2 separate regions of the Homo sapiens genome follow, and region 2 is linked to region 1. Evidence: promoter capture Hi-C in 16 types of primary human blood cells and fetal thymus (Javierre and others, 2016). All regions are on one chromosome and are shown on one strand. The core of a region is centred on a gene start or on the middle of the fragment in contact, and the rest is flanking DNA. Distances in the headings are between cores, read along the strand shown. Region 1 holds the start of FDFT1 (farnesyl-diphosphate farnesyltransferase 1). Region 2 has its middle 37 kb from the start of CTSB.

Region 1 (6,425 bases), core at 3,584-6,083:
AGAATGGGTGGACAGGAGGCTGAAATCCCAACAAAGGATGTAGATGCCAAATGGCAAGGACGTTTTTATTCTATGCCAGAAGGCTTGATTTCCTTTAAATCAATCCATTGATTCGAAGACATTTCATTGGAGGAATTTAAAATGGAAGGATTATAATCAAGTGTGTGTTTTTATTTTTTATTTTTTTGAGACGGAGTCTCACTTTGTTGCCCAGGCTGCAGTGTGGTGTGGTGATCTCGGCTCGTGGGTTCAAGCGATTCTCCAGCCTCAGCCTCCCGAGTAACTGGGATTACAGGCACCCACAACCACGCTCAGCTAATTTTGGTATTTTTAGTAGAGACGGGGTTTCACCATGTTAGCCAGGCTGGTCTCAAAGTCCTGACCTCAAGTGATCCGCCTGCATTGGTCTTCCCAAGTGCTGGGATTACAGGTGTGAGCCACTGCACCCAGCCCAGTGTGTGTTTTAGACGAATAACTCTACCTGCCATATGGGAAAGGACAGGGGAAGTCAACTTCAACATGGTTTGGGAAAGAAGATGTGGCTTAAACCAAGATGGAGCAGAGAGGAGAGATTAAAATGAAAGGTATTTGTTTTCTTGGACTCCACAGGACTTGATGAATGATTTTGAAGGGGTGGATATAAGGAGAGAAAGGGCGTTATCAATGACACCTGGATTTTGTGATTACAAAACTGAGAGGCTGTTAACGCTATCCACAGGAGAAGCAGATTTAATGGAAGAGAGATTTAAAGAATGGGCACGTTAACTAACTTTGCATTGTTTAGGCACCATCGTGTCCTATACGCAGCTCAATTCAATAAATACTCATTGAGCACCCAATAAATATTCATTGAGCCAGTATGTGCTGGGCACTATTCCAGATGGTTGAGGGGACATTAGTGAGCAAAACAAAGGTGTGTCGTCACTGAGCTTAGATTTCTAGTGTTGACTTAAAAAATATGATTTATCAATTTAGAAAGGGAGAAGAGCCTTTATTTCTTCTAAAGGGTTACAGCATGCTTCCAGCTTAGACCACAGACGGGCACTTTGAAGGAAAAGGCGTTTGAGGTAGGAGCTTTATGCTGACTGGGTTGGCTAAACGTACATATTTAACAGATTACAAGAGGAGCTACGAATATTTATGATGGCGGACCTGACACATTGAACAAACATGTATGTAATATATGACCCATATTCACTTTGGGATAGAGACTCAACATGTGAATGCATTACAATTACACCCTATAGGTCAAAAGGTCTTTTTAGGACAGGAAGGCGCCTTGAGTGTACAGTTTCTGTAAACTGGCCAGACCAGTCCACGGTCGGCGGTCTTATCAGGAGAAAGTTACTGAGATCAATCTCTTGACCAGTCAAAGCTGTAGTTATGGCTGGTGGAACAGGGGTTCAATTAGTCACTGTCTGGTGGAGCTGCAGGTGTTTTACTATTGCTTATCTCAAGGCCAGCGTTTAGCTGCTGGAGAAAAAGAAGAGCCCTGTGGCAGTTAGAGCTTAGTTGATTCTTCAAGTGTAGGGGTGCCTGACTTCACCATTGCCTGCATGGCCTTAGGTCCTGTTTATAATTGGGTATCTTATTGCCACAGAGTCTGTTCCGTTAGTCTTATGATCTCTGTTTTAATGTTAATGCCAGCCAGTTGTGTATGAACTCCAAAAGGAAGGGGGTACAATGAGGGCTATCTGATCTCCTGTCCCGTTATTTGAAATGCTTTTTCCCTGGTGCTGGAAAGAAATAGCACTTGTAGGCTGGGAGCCGTGGCTCACGCCTGTAATCCCAGTACCTGGGGAGGCTGAGGCGGGCGGATCACGAGGTCAAGAGATTGAGACCATCCTAACCAACATGGTGAAACCCTGTCTCAACTAAAAATAAAAAAATTAGCTGGCCGTGGTGGTACATGCCTGTAGTTCCAGCTACTCGGGAGGCTAAGGCAGGAGACTCACTTGAACCTGGGAGCCAGAGGTTGCAGTGAACCAAGATCGCGCCACTGCACTCCAGCCTCACGACAGAGTGAGACTCCATTTAAAAAAAAAAAAAAAATGAAGAAGAAATAGCACTCGAAGGCTGGGCGCAGTGGCTTGCCTGTAATCCTAGCACTTTGGGAGGCCGAGGAGGGTGGATCATGAGGTCAGGAGTTCAAGACCAGTCTGGCCAACATGGTGAAACCCTGTCTCTACTAAAAATCGAAAAATTACCCAGGCGTGGTGGTTGGGCGCCTGTAATCCCAGCTACTCGGGAGGCTGAGGCAGGAGAAGCACTTGAACCCAGAAGGCAGAGGTGGCAGTGAACCGAGACTGTGCCACTGCACTCCAGCCTGGCAACAAGAGTGAAATTCTGTCTCAAAAAAAAAAAAAAAAAAAAAAAAAAAAAAAAGGCGCTTGAACATTAATTTACTAAGCAGGCCATTTTTACTTCCTGCAGAAAGGGTACACTCGCCAGCAGTTTTGCCATGGGAGTATACCAAACAAAGGAGACAGGGTCATTTATAACCTGACTCGTCCACCCCACTGCTTGTGTCTAGTTTCCATTGGCTGGAACGGTGCCTCACGTTCTGTATTTGTCCCGATTGGCTAGCAACTTAGAAGTTTTTAAAAGAGGCAAAGGTAGAGGAGAACAAAGGAAGGAGGAAGTAACTTGTGGAATGGTGACAAAGGTTGAAACACCTTCAAATAAGGAAGAGGAACAGGCTATGACCTAATGCTTTCTTGGACCACTATAAGCATGCCAGGGCAAATATTTAGGCTAAATTGTGAGAGCTAAGAACATGAAGTACATTGATTTCTTTATCATAGCTAGCAGATATTTAAGAATGTTAGCACAGGTCTTTGAATAAAGTTTGCTTCTAAGAGAAGTTACTATTTATTCCTAATTAAATGGGGAGGAAAGTCTTTGAAGAGGAACCTCTACTTTACTTTTTATACCGTCATGGCTGGAAACTAAGTTTTTAAGATTTTTCTGGGGTTCCCTTGGCCGAGGTGGGGAGTGGGAGGGCTGTCCAGTGGTAGGGACTTAGGATTTTTAGTTTACAGTAGTAGGGGAAACACTCTGTAATCTAATACATAAGTAAATGATGTATTAGAATATGGTAAATATAGGCAAGTAGACCCCCACTGGGATTAGCAGTGGTGGAAATGTGAGAGAGGGCAAACAGGTGGGTCTAGATGAGGTGTGAGCAGACTCGAGGGGCACAGGAGTTAGTCAAGCCAGTATCTGGGGGATAGTGCAGGAATAGTGAACAGCTAGACAAAAAGTCCTAGGGCCAGAGAAAGCAAAAGCATAAGAGATGGAGGCCAGAGAGGTAATCTGGGTGGAAGGCTGCAGCCTCTCAGGATCCCTATAGGTGCTTTGGCTTTTGTTGGAGAGACACTGAACAGCTTTGGGCAGTGAACGTACCTGACAGGTTTCCTGTTTGTTTTTGAGATGAAGTCTCGCTCTTGTCCCCCAGGCTGGAGTGCAATAGCGCGATCTCAGCTCACTGCAACCTCTGCCTCCTGTGTTCAAGCGATTCTCCTGCCTCAGCCTCCCAGGTAGCTGGGATTATAGGCGCCTGCCACCATGCCTGGCTAATTTTTGTATTTTTAGTAGAGACGCAGTTTCAGCATGTTGGCCAGGCTGGTCTTGAACTCCAGACCTCAGGTGATCCGCCCGCCTTGGCCTCCCAAAGTGCTGGGATTACAGGCATGAGCCACCGCGCTCGGCTAGACCTGACAGGTTTTAAAAGGATTACTGGTTGCTGTGTTAAAACAGACTGCAGGATGGCTTAGGTAGCCAGTAGGTTTTTTTTTTTTTTTGGAGACGTAGTCTTGCTCTGTTGGCCTGGCTGGAGTGCAGCGGTGTCATCTTGGCTCACTGCAAACTCCGCTTCCCGGGTTCAAGTGATTCTCCTGCCTCAGCCTCCGGAGTAGTTGGGACTACAGGCGCCCACCACCACACTCGGCTTTTTTGTATTTTTAGTAGAGACGGGTTTCACCATGTTGGCCAGGATGGTCTCGATCTCTTGACCTCGTGATCCACCCGCCTTGGCCTCCCAAAGTGTTGCGATTACAGGCGTGAGCCACCACGCCTGGACGGGTAGCCAGTAGTTTCTAGGGCTGGAGAGATCTAGGATGAGAGAAGTTTCCACATTCCTGTTACAGGCTCTCTAAGGCTTCAGCTCCTTTTTCTAGGACTAAGCTGGATCTCAAGTAAACACTAGAGAGGGGGCAGCTGAAGCTCCAGGAGTGTGTGGGGCTCCCTGGGGCTGGATGGCGGTGGCGGGCAGGCGAGCTGGGCTGTGCTCGGGTGTGTTACAGTAAAGACGCCCAGCTTGGCGCTGGCCCGGCCTTTTCACGGTTTTAGGCTCTACAGAGAGCGGCTGCAGAGCTCACCCGGCTGGCAGGAGCCACCGAGGCCGGACACGTGGGCGACTTATTGACCAAGTGGGGAGGAAGCAGCCCCGCACTGCTCTCCCGACTGCGGACCACCGTTGGGCTCCTGCGCATCCTAAGCCCCACCGCCTCACCTCCAGTCCCCACAGCGTTCGCGCTCCCAGCCGGGGTAAGCGGAAGAAAACAAAGGCCCGGCTCCATCAGGGCACCAATCCCGCTCGTCGGCCTCTTTCTCGGCCTCCAATGAGCTTCTAGAGTGTTATCACGCCAGTCTCCTTCCGCGACTGATTGGCCGGGGTCTTCCTAGTGTGAGCGGCCCTGGCCAATCAGCGCCCGTCAGCCCACCCCACGAGGCCGCAGCTAGCCCCGCTGGCGGCCGAGGCCGGTTGAAGTGGGCGGAGCGGCGGGCGGGGCGTCGCCGTACTAGGCCTGCCCCCTGTCCGGCCAGCCCCTCGAAGCACCTACTCCACAGGTCCAGCCGGCCGGTGAGCGCCTGGGGACCGCAGAGGTGAGAGTCGCGCCCGGGAGTCCGCCGCCTGCGCCAGGATGGAGTTCGTGAAATGCCTTGGCCACCCCGAAGAGTTCTACAACCTGGTGCGCTTCCGGATCGGGGGCAAGCGGAAGGTGATGCCCAAGATGGACCAGGTGGGCCGAGCCTCCCTGCTTGCCCGGGGCGGGGAAGGAGCTCGCTGGGCCGGCCTCAGGGCCTGAGCGGCCGGGCCCGGATCTGGGGCAAGGGGCGCGGCGAGCAGGGCCGACGCCTGGGTGTTCCCGTCCCCCTTTCCTCGAGCCTTCCCCCTGTAGGGCCCGGGTGGACGCGGCCGTCCTGGCTGACCTGTCCCTGCCCCCGCAAGCCGCCCTGGGCATGAGCGACTTTTGCGTGGTTCCCGGTGGTTGCGCTCCCCGTTTCGTCCCCTCCGTGAGCATCGGCGCTTACCGGTATTTTAACCCGAGGGTTACACATCTGAGGCAATGTGGGTGGGTTACGCGGGAGAGGACGAGTGAGTTTTTTGGTAAGCGGAATGAACTATGCAGATAACATCACATGAAGGCCGTTTCTGGAATGAAGTCTGACTCCTCCAGTTTCACCACCTCTTCCGGAGCTCTCCCCGCCTTGCTGCCTTCCATCGCTTCATCCTCGGTGCTTCCTGAGTTTTAAAATCGCCTATCTACGCTTCCAAGTTCCAATGAGTTATCTAACGTCTATGGATTAGCTAGGTGGTTGGTGGAAGGTCAGAACTTGGTTTTACTTAGATTTTTATCTGCCTCATGCCTGTACTATTTGTTTAATGAATGCATAGGAGGTGTTTTTATTCCAACAAGAAAATTATTCGTACGCGATTATTGAATGAATAGACAAATTCAGCCAAGTTCTTCTGGTCTGGACCAGCCTGGCTGATTTCTGTAACTTTTTTGGGCCAACAGGACAGTAGCAAATGTGACTCAGGCCGAGGCTTGATAGGTGCCTGAACATCGGAGTCTTTCTTTCAGTGTCCATGTGCTTCAGTAAACACACTAGAAAATAAATTTCTGGTTTTTGTCCCCAGTAGACTACACCCTCATTTGGTGTTATTTTTCACGTGCTATCTTTAATACAGGTACATCCTTCAGTCTATTTGTAGAACATTCAGTTTTCTTCATCTTTTCTTTGCCGGTGCTACATTATTTGAATTATTTTGCTACAGAATAACTTCTATTATTTGATATGGCAGATGTCACTTTTTATATTTAGATATAGCATTCATTTATTTAACAAATATTTGACGACCAGTTGTATATCAGATAGTGTTCTAGGTGCTGGAGGTACAACAGTGAACAAGCTAGGTGAAGACCTTGATTTTATAAAACTTACTTTTTAGTGGAAGAGAGACAATTTAAGAAAGCGAATGTACAGTTTTTCACGTGGAGAAAAGCACTGCAGAGGAAGATACTAGCAGGGCAAGGGATCTGAGTGCAGTCAGACCTCATTTGGGTCCAGACTTCATTCCTCTATGTCTCTTTCCTTTCTACAGAAAGACTGTTAGAGAAAATGGTAGCATTGGTTTC
Region 2 (6,425 bases), core at 1,724-4,223, 100 kb after region 1:
TGTCTTTTTCCAATAATGATGATTAAGATGGTGATATTAATAATTCTTTATCTTCATTGAGCATGTAATAATTTTAAAAGTCTTTTCTGCCTACCAGACTTCTTCCCTCCCAGCTGAGCAGGGCACTGGCCAGTGTTCCCACTTCACAGTTAAACTGAGCCAGGTCCTGAGAGGCTGGGAGGAAGAGTCAGGCTCAGTTCATGGCCTTGACTCTCTCCTCAGTCCAGAGACCCACGTTGAGCCATTCCCAGCGCTGTCTCCTGCATTTTATAGTAGCGACCTCCCACAATTTCCCAGCTCTGAAATCAAAGTTCAAGGCTGTCTGCTTTTTTTCTCTACTGGAGTCCTGTTGGTGACAGTTTGGACCCACCAATACCCTGTTGATCCCCCTGAGCCCTGCCTTTTTGTTTACTGCACAAATATGCACTGTTCAGAAAACAAACAACAAAAAGGGAAGCAATTCTGTTTACTAGACTTTTTGTTTGTTTGTTTGAGACAGGGTCTCTCTTTGTCGCCCAGGCTTGAAAGCAGTGCTGTGGTCATGCCTTTTTGCAACCTCTTTCTCCCATGCTGAAGCCATCCTCCCACCTGAGCCTCGGGAGTAGCTAGGACTACATATGCCTGCTACCATGCCTGGCTAATTTTTTTCATGTTTTGTCGAGATGAGTCTCTTTAGATTGCCCCGCGTGGCTTGCTGGATATTTGAGCCAAGGAAACTTGAGTGGATCTCATAACCTCAAGGGACCACATGTCCTTGAATGATGGACAGCCACCATTTCTGTCCTATCTACCTTATGTGGGTTTGACAGGCCTCTCCAGGCCTGGATCTGAGTCTAATGCAGGGCTTAAGTGATGCAGGCCTCTGGGCCACTGTAAGTCACCACGGAGCGTTTCTCCACCGAGCTCCAGCGGCTGCGGGGCCCGGCGCCGCCCTCGATTAATGCTGGCAGCGCCACCAAGCGGGCAGCTGGGAAACAGCGGCCACCTCATTCCAAGGAAGCGGGGAGGCGGAGAGAGTGGGGAGGGCCCCGCTTTGGTCGCGATCCGGTGGACACCATCCCGGCGGGGAGGAGCCTTCCCACGAGGACAGATGGCGACACACACGCCTGTTGGAGCATCCTGAGGCCCGCCTCTGTGGCTTCTGTTGTGACGCAAGCGTTCCCTCCGCGAGTAGGGTCTGTGGCCGGGGCTGTGTCTGCGGGACTGGGAAGCTCTCCCGTGAGGTATGTCTCGGGACCTTCCTGTCTGTGACTGGAGGGCATCTGCGGGCAGATGGGGCACCTGCACCTCCATCTCCGCTGCCCCTGCCCTGCCCTTCTACCCAGGCCTTGCAGTCACCAGAGATGGGATCCAGGCTCAGCTCGGCCACGTCTGAGCTTCTTGCCATCTGGGAAACGGGGTGCAGAGAGACATCCCCGGTTGAAAGCTAAACCTTCTTGCTGCAAGCCATGCCAGGGAGGTAGGTCAGAGGCCAAAAGCCTTTGCCTGAAATTTACGGCCCCGCAGTTGGGCCTTAGTCTCCTCTTCCAGTTTTATTTATTTATTTTTTTTAGAGACAAGTCTCACTCTGTCACCCAGGCTGGAGTGCAGTGGGGCGATTATAACTCACTGCAACCTCGAACTCCTGAGCTCAAGTGATCCACCTCAACCTCTGGCGAAGCTGGGACAAGCCAGTGCCACCTGCCCAGCCAAGTTTTGAATTTTTGCAGAGACGAAGGTCTCACTATATTGTCCAGGCTGGTCTCAAATTCCTGCCTCAAGTGATCCTCCTGCTTTGGCCTCCTGAAGTACTGGGATTACAGTCGTGAGCCACCAAGACTGGCCTCCTCTTCTACCCTCAACTCCAGCTACTTTTTTATTTTTGAGATGGAGTCTTGCTTTGTTACCCAGGCTGGAGTGCAGTGGCACGATCTCGGCTCACTGCAACCTCTCTCCTGGGTTCAAGAGATTCTTCTGCCTCAGCCTCCCAAGTAACTGGGACTACAGGCACACACCACCGTGCCTGGCTAATTTTTGTATTTTTAGTAGTGATGGGGTTTCACCATATTGGCCAGGCTGGTCCCGAACTCCTGACCTCACGATCCACCCGCCTTGGCCTCCCAAAGTGCTAGGATTACAGGTGTGAGCCACTGCGCCTGGCCGACTCCATCTACTTTTTACTCAGCCAGAGGGGCTCACTGTCCCTCTGAAATATCTCCACGGTTTCCCACCTCCACACCATCCGTGGTGCCTGGAAGGCATCTCCCCCAGCCCTCCTGAGATCCACACAAATGTTCATATTGGATGTGTAGATGTGGGGTATTATTATCTTAATGTTTTCTAATTATATGTGCTCTTCTATACACAAAAAGTGTAAAGAAAAAGTATCACCCACTTTCCTGAATTATTCCACTATTCTGATTTAACTATTTTATGTATATATACTTGTAGAGACAGGGTCTGGCCATATTGGCCAGGCTGGTCTTGAACTGCTGGCCTCAAACAATCTGCCTTCCTTGGCCTCCCAAAGTGCTGGGATTCCCGTCATGAGCCACTGCGCTGTGCCCCTATTATTAATTTTTAATTAATGTATTACTTAGACTTAAAAACATTTTTCTGTGCAAATACATATATGTATTTTACATACATGGACTACGTGTACTAACCACCTTTTAGTGTGGAGAAGTTACGCCTCTGCAGCCGGTTACTGAGCTTCTCGAAAGCGGAAGCTCCTACCCATCCGTCAAAGTGCAGCCCATGTCACTCCGCCCTGGAGGTCTCTGTGACTCAGACAGGCAGCGTTTACTGTCCTCTCACCTGGTTGTCGATGATACCTTGACCACACTTTAATTTCGGTACTTATTGTCTTATATTTGGCTATTGGTTTATGCATCTGAACTCTCCACTTGATTGGTACACATGGCACCCTCAGGCGTAGCTAATTTTTTACTTTTTCTAGAGATGGGGTTTAGCTGTGCTGCCCAGGCTGGTCTTGAACTCCTGAACTCAAGCAATCTGCCTGCCTCGGCCACCCGAAGTGCTGGGATTACAAGCATGAGCCACCGTGCCTGGGTGCTGCTATCTTCTAAATGAGCAGAATGCATAGATTCCTCTCTAGGGTTTGCAGATTTGAAAAGATGGGGTTTTGCACCATGCACCTAACATTCTTCTTGCCAGAAGCGCTCTGCAGAACAAAGGAGTTTTATGAAGACTAGGTGCCTCTAGCCTATCTTCTATCCTGGAACCTCAAACCTGGTAATCCATTATTTATTCAACAAATATTGATTGAGCACCTACTATGTGCCAGATACTAAGTTTAGAGAGTATAATAGTGAACAAAACAGAAATCCTTGCCTTCTATGGGACTTACATTTTACTGGAGGCATTCAGACAATAAACAAAGTAAATACTTAAAATATATAGTATGTTCGACGGTGTTGAGTGTTTGGGGAAAAATAAAGTGGAAGGGACAGTCCTATCCTTAGACCTGGGTAAGAGGGTCCCTTTCCCCAAGCTCCACCCTTCTCTAAGCCCCTCCAGGGCAAAGAGTCTGCCAGGACAAGGGGATGTGGCCCCTGGGAGCCCAAGATCCTTCTCTAGGTTTCACTCTGGTTATCCAAGACCTCAAGAGTTCCTGCTCAAATGGCACTGAACCCATGTTCGGGGCTTGTTTGTGTTCCCATAGGTCTGACCCTGAGAGAGTGGAATGTACCTGTAAGCCAAAAGTACAGTCAAGAGGTGACTGTTTCCTGGGGATGTAGCTGGGATGTTCACTTGTATGACTGAGGTGCAGGATGAAAATGGGTGTGGGAAGAGAAAGGGGGTAAACCATCATTTTTACTCTTTTTTTTTTTTTTTTTTTGACACAGAGTTTTGCTCTGTCACCCAGGCTGGAGTGCAGTGCGGTGATCTCGGCTCACTGCAACCTCCACCTCCCGGGTTAAAGCGATTCTCCTGCCTCAGCCTTTGGAGTAGCTGGGGTTACAGGCACATACCACCATGCCTTCTAATTTTTTGTATTTTTAGTAGAGATGGGGTTTCACCATGTTGTCCAGGCCGGTCTTGAACTCCTGACCTCAGGTGATCTGCCCACCTCGGCCTCCAAAGTGCTGGGATTACCGGCATGAGCCCCCATTCCCAGCCCATTTTTAATCTATTTCCAGGCTTTCCAAATGTTAGGGACAGGACTGGGAAGATAGATATGGAGACGGGGGGGTGGGGTGTCACTGCAATTTTAAGTAGAATGGGCAGGGAAGGTGACATTTTACTAAAGAAGAGGAGGAAAGGAGTGGTATGTGTAGATATAACTGAAAGTGCCCTCCAGGCAGAGGAAAAGTGAGTACGAAGGTGTGGAGGCAGCAGTGTGCCTGGGATGCCCAGGAAAAATAAACCTGGGTACTCGCCAGGTGCCATGGCCCAGGGGGACCTGCCAGATTTGTGCTTGTGCAAAACCTAAAAAAAATAGGCCCTTGAAGCCAGGCTCGGTGGCTCACTCCTGTAATCCCAGCATTTTGGGAGGCCGAGGCAGGCAGATCACAAGGTCAGGAGATCGAGACCATCGTGTCTAACATGATGAAACCCCGTCTCTAGTAAAAATACAAAAAAATTAGCCAGGCATGGTGGTGGGCACCTGTGGTCCTAGCTACTCAGGAGGCTGAGGGAGGAGAATGGCATGAACCCAGGAGGTGGAGCTTGCAGTGAGCGGAGATGACGCCACTGCCGTCCATCCTGGGTGACAGAGCAAGATTCCGTCTCAAAAATAAAAAAATAAAAAAAAAATAAGACCTCGATCAATGTTGGATTGAATGAACGAATGGTCCCACCTCTTGGAGGAGCCACTCCCAACAGCACACAGCTGCCTCTTCTTCCCGGCTCTGTGCCAAGGGGTGTTTCAGCTTTGCTTTGATCCTGATGACCAGGCACTGCTATTCTTTAGGCCGGGATTTCCCCAAGCCTTGGTATTTTTAAAAATACGTTATAGTTCCCTTGAAACTCTCTCCTTATCACCTCCACCTTCCTGTTTTCATCTCCCACTCCTTGGCACCCTCTGTCTCCCCACGGTGTCCCCATGACGCTGCCTGCATGCCCATTGGCCCCAGCCTGGGAGCTTCTCAGAGACGCCCGGGCCAGACATGGCTGCAGATAGAGCCAAGAGGGTGGCCTCGGGTGGCTGGTGGCAGTCTCCTGGCTGTGGGGGCAGAAGTGGGGGCCTGGGAGGTGGCAGGCAGCTCAGGCCTAAGGAAGGATGGAGTCAGAGCTCAGAGATGTGACCGGAAAGGGCTCAGCCACGGGAAGGAGTTTGGGGATTTACCCACGTAAGTACTGAATTATTCGGCCAAAATTGAAACGTAAATAGGAACTGAGAGATGTAAACAGAATTTGGAAATCATTGTTGCCTTGATGGCACTTTTTGATCCTGACAAATTTAGACTTTCCTTTGACAGTCTCATGGATGACGCCAGACGGAAATAAATATTTAAGCCCATGAAAGTTGGGAAGTTGAATAGGAAATTTCCCCTACAAGAGGCTAGGATTGCAAAAGGTCACAACTCTAGAGTAAAGGTAAACCAGATATATACCAGTCCTTCTGGGGGATATCAGCTAAAGTTCTCATTGCCTGGGTGGACCAAGGAACATCAAACTTTGGACTTGGTTTAAGGTACCTCTGAACAGATGCTGCTTTTTGAGCCTCTGAGTCAGCATGCGAATTCCCCAAACCCATCAAGGTGGAAGCTCGCTCGTGTCCTCTGCAATGCCTAACTGCCACCTTGTGGGGTTTCCATACTGCTTCTAATCATTGCAAGATTTCTTGTGGATATTTTCTGTCTTTACCCTCAGAGTTCAATAGGCCCTTTTCTTTCTATCACGCTCCATGCACTTGAAGGGTTAAAAAGACATACCGGGAATCAGTGTAAATGTTGACAGTCTCACCCTCACTGAGTTCTAAGGCCCAATGAAAGCAATGAGTTCAGCTTTCTGGGCTGAAGTGGCCTGGGGCAACGATCCGGCTTCAACAACAGTGTCCAGAGTTATCACTGCATACCCTGCACCTCTCTCTCCTTGGGGGTTGAAGAAGCTGCTCCCATCCACGTATGGCTCCCAGTCTACTGATGCCCAAGCCTGGTCCCGGAGGTCAGGTCTGCTAGAGTCAATTGAGTCCAACATTTCTACACAATCAGGCTCGACAGGGCTCTCTGACACGGGGAGCAAGGTGGTGGGGTGTAGGGTGTTACAAACTTTACTGGTTATACGGGGATTTTCACAGAGCAAAGTTTGGTCCTTGGTGAGTCTAGCATTCGTTAGCCAATGATGTCCTTTAGTATCCATTAAAGTCACCACAGCATGGGGGGCCTTTATGTTCAGGTTTTGCCCAAGAGTCAGCTTATCTGCTTCTGGTACTAGCAGGGCAGTTGCTGCCAAGGCCCTCAAACACGGGGGCCATCCTT

What was found. Contacts are between HindIII fragments. The CHiCAGO score rates a contact against its expected background, and 5 or more counts as called.
Region 2: a fragment that was not itself captured here is called in contact with the fragment with the promoter of FDFT1 in region 1 in 5 of 17 cell types (neutrophils, monocytes, erythroblasts and 2 more); the score reaches 7.2 in neutrophils.

What each region holds. Positions count from the first base shown.
Region 1 is chr8:11,797,908-11,804,332 of GRCh38, forward strand. FDFT1 (farnesyl-diphosphate farnesyltransferase 1) reads left to right here and starts at 4,834. Exons shown (of 8, transcript NM_004462.5): 1 at 4,834-5,024. The coding sequence starts at 4,926. LOC105379243 (a long non-coding RNA gene) reads right to left here and starts at 3,448. Exons shown (of 3, transcript XR_948962.4): 1 at 3,406-3,448. RefSeq lists enhancers at 2,108-2,751, 2,881-3,623, 3,624-4,365, 4,403-4,562 and silencers at 2,396-2,455, 4,633-4,882, 5,093-5,212. The HindIII fragment of the contact is 12,361 bases long and covers 1-6,425 here.
Region 2 is chr8:11,901,471-11,907,895 of GRCh38, forward strand. No RefSeq gene overlaps it. Among named protein-coding and RNA genes, the nearest start is that of CTSB, 37 kb to the left of the region's middle. RefSeq lists enhancers at 762-1,263, 997-1,236. The HindIII fragment of the contact is 9,699 bases long and covers 1-6,425 here.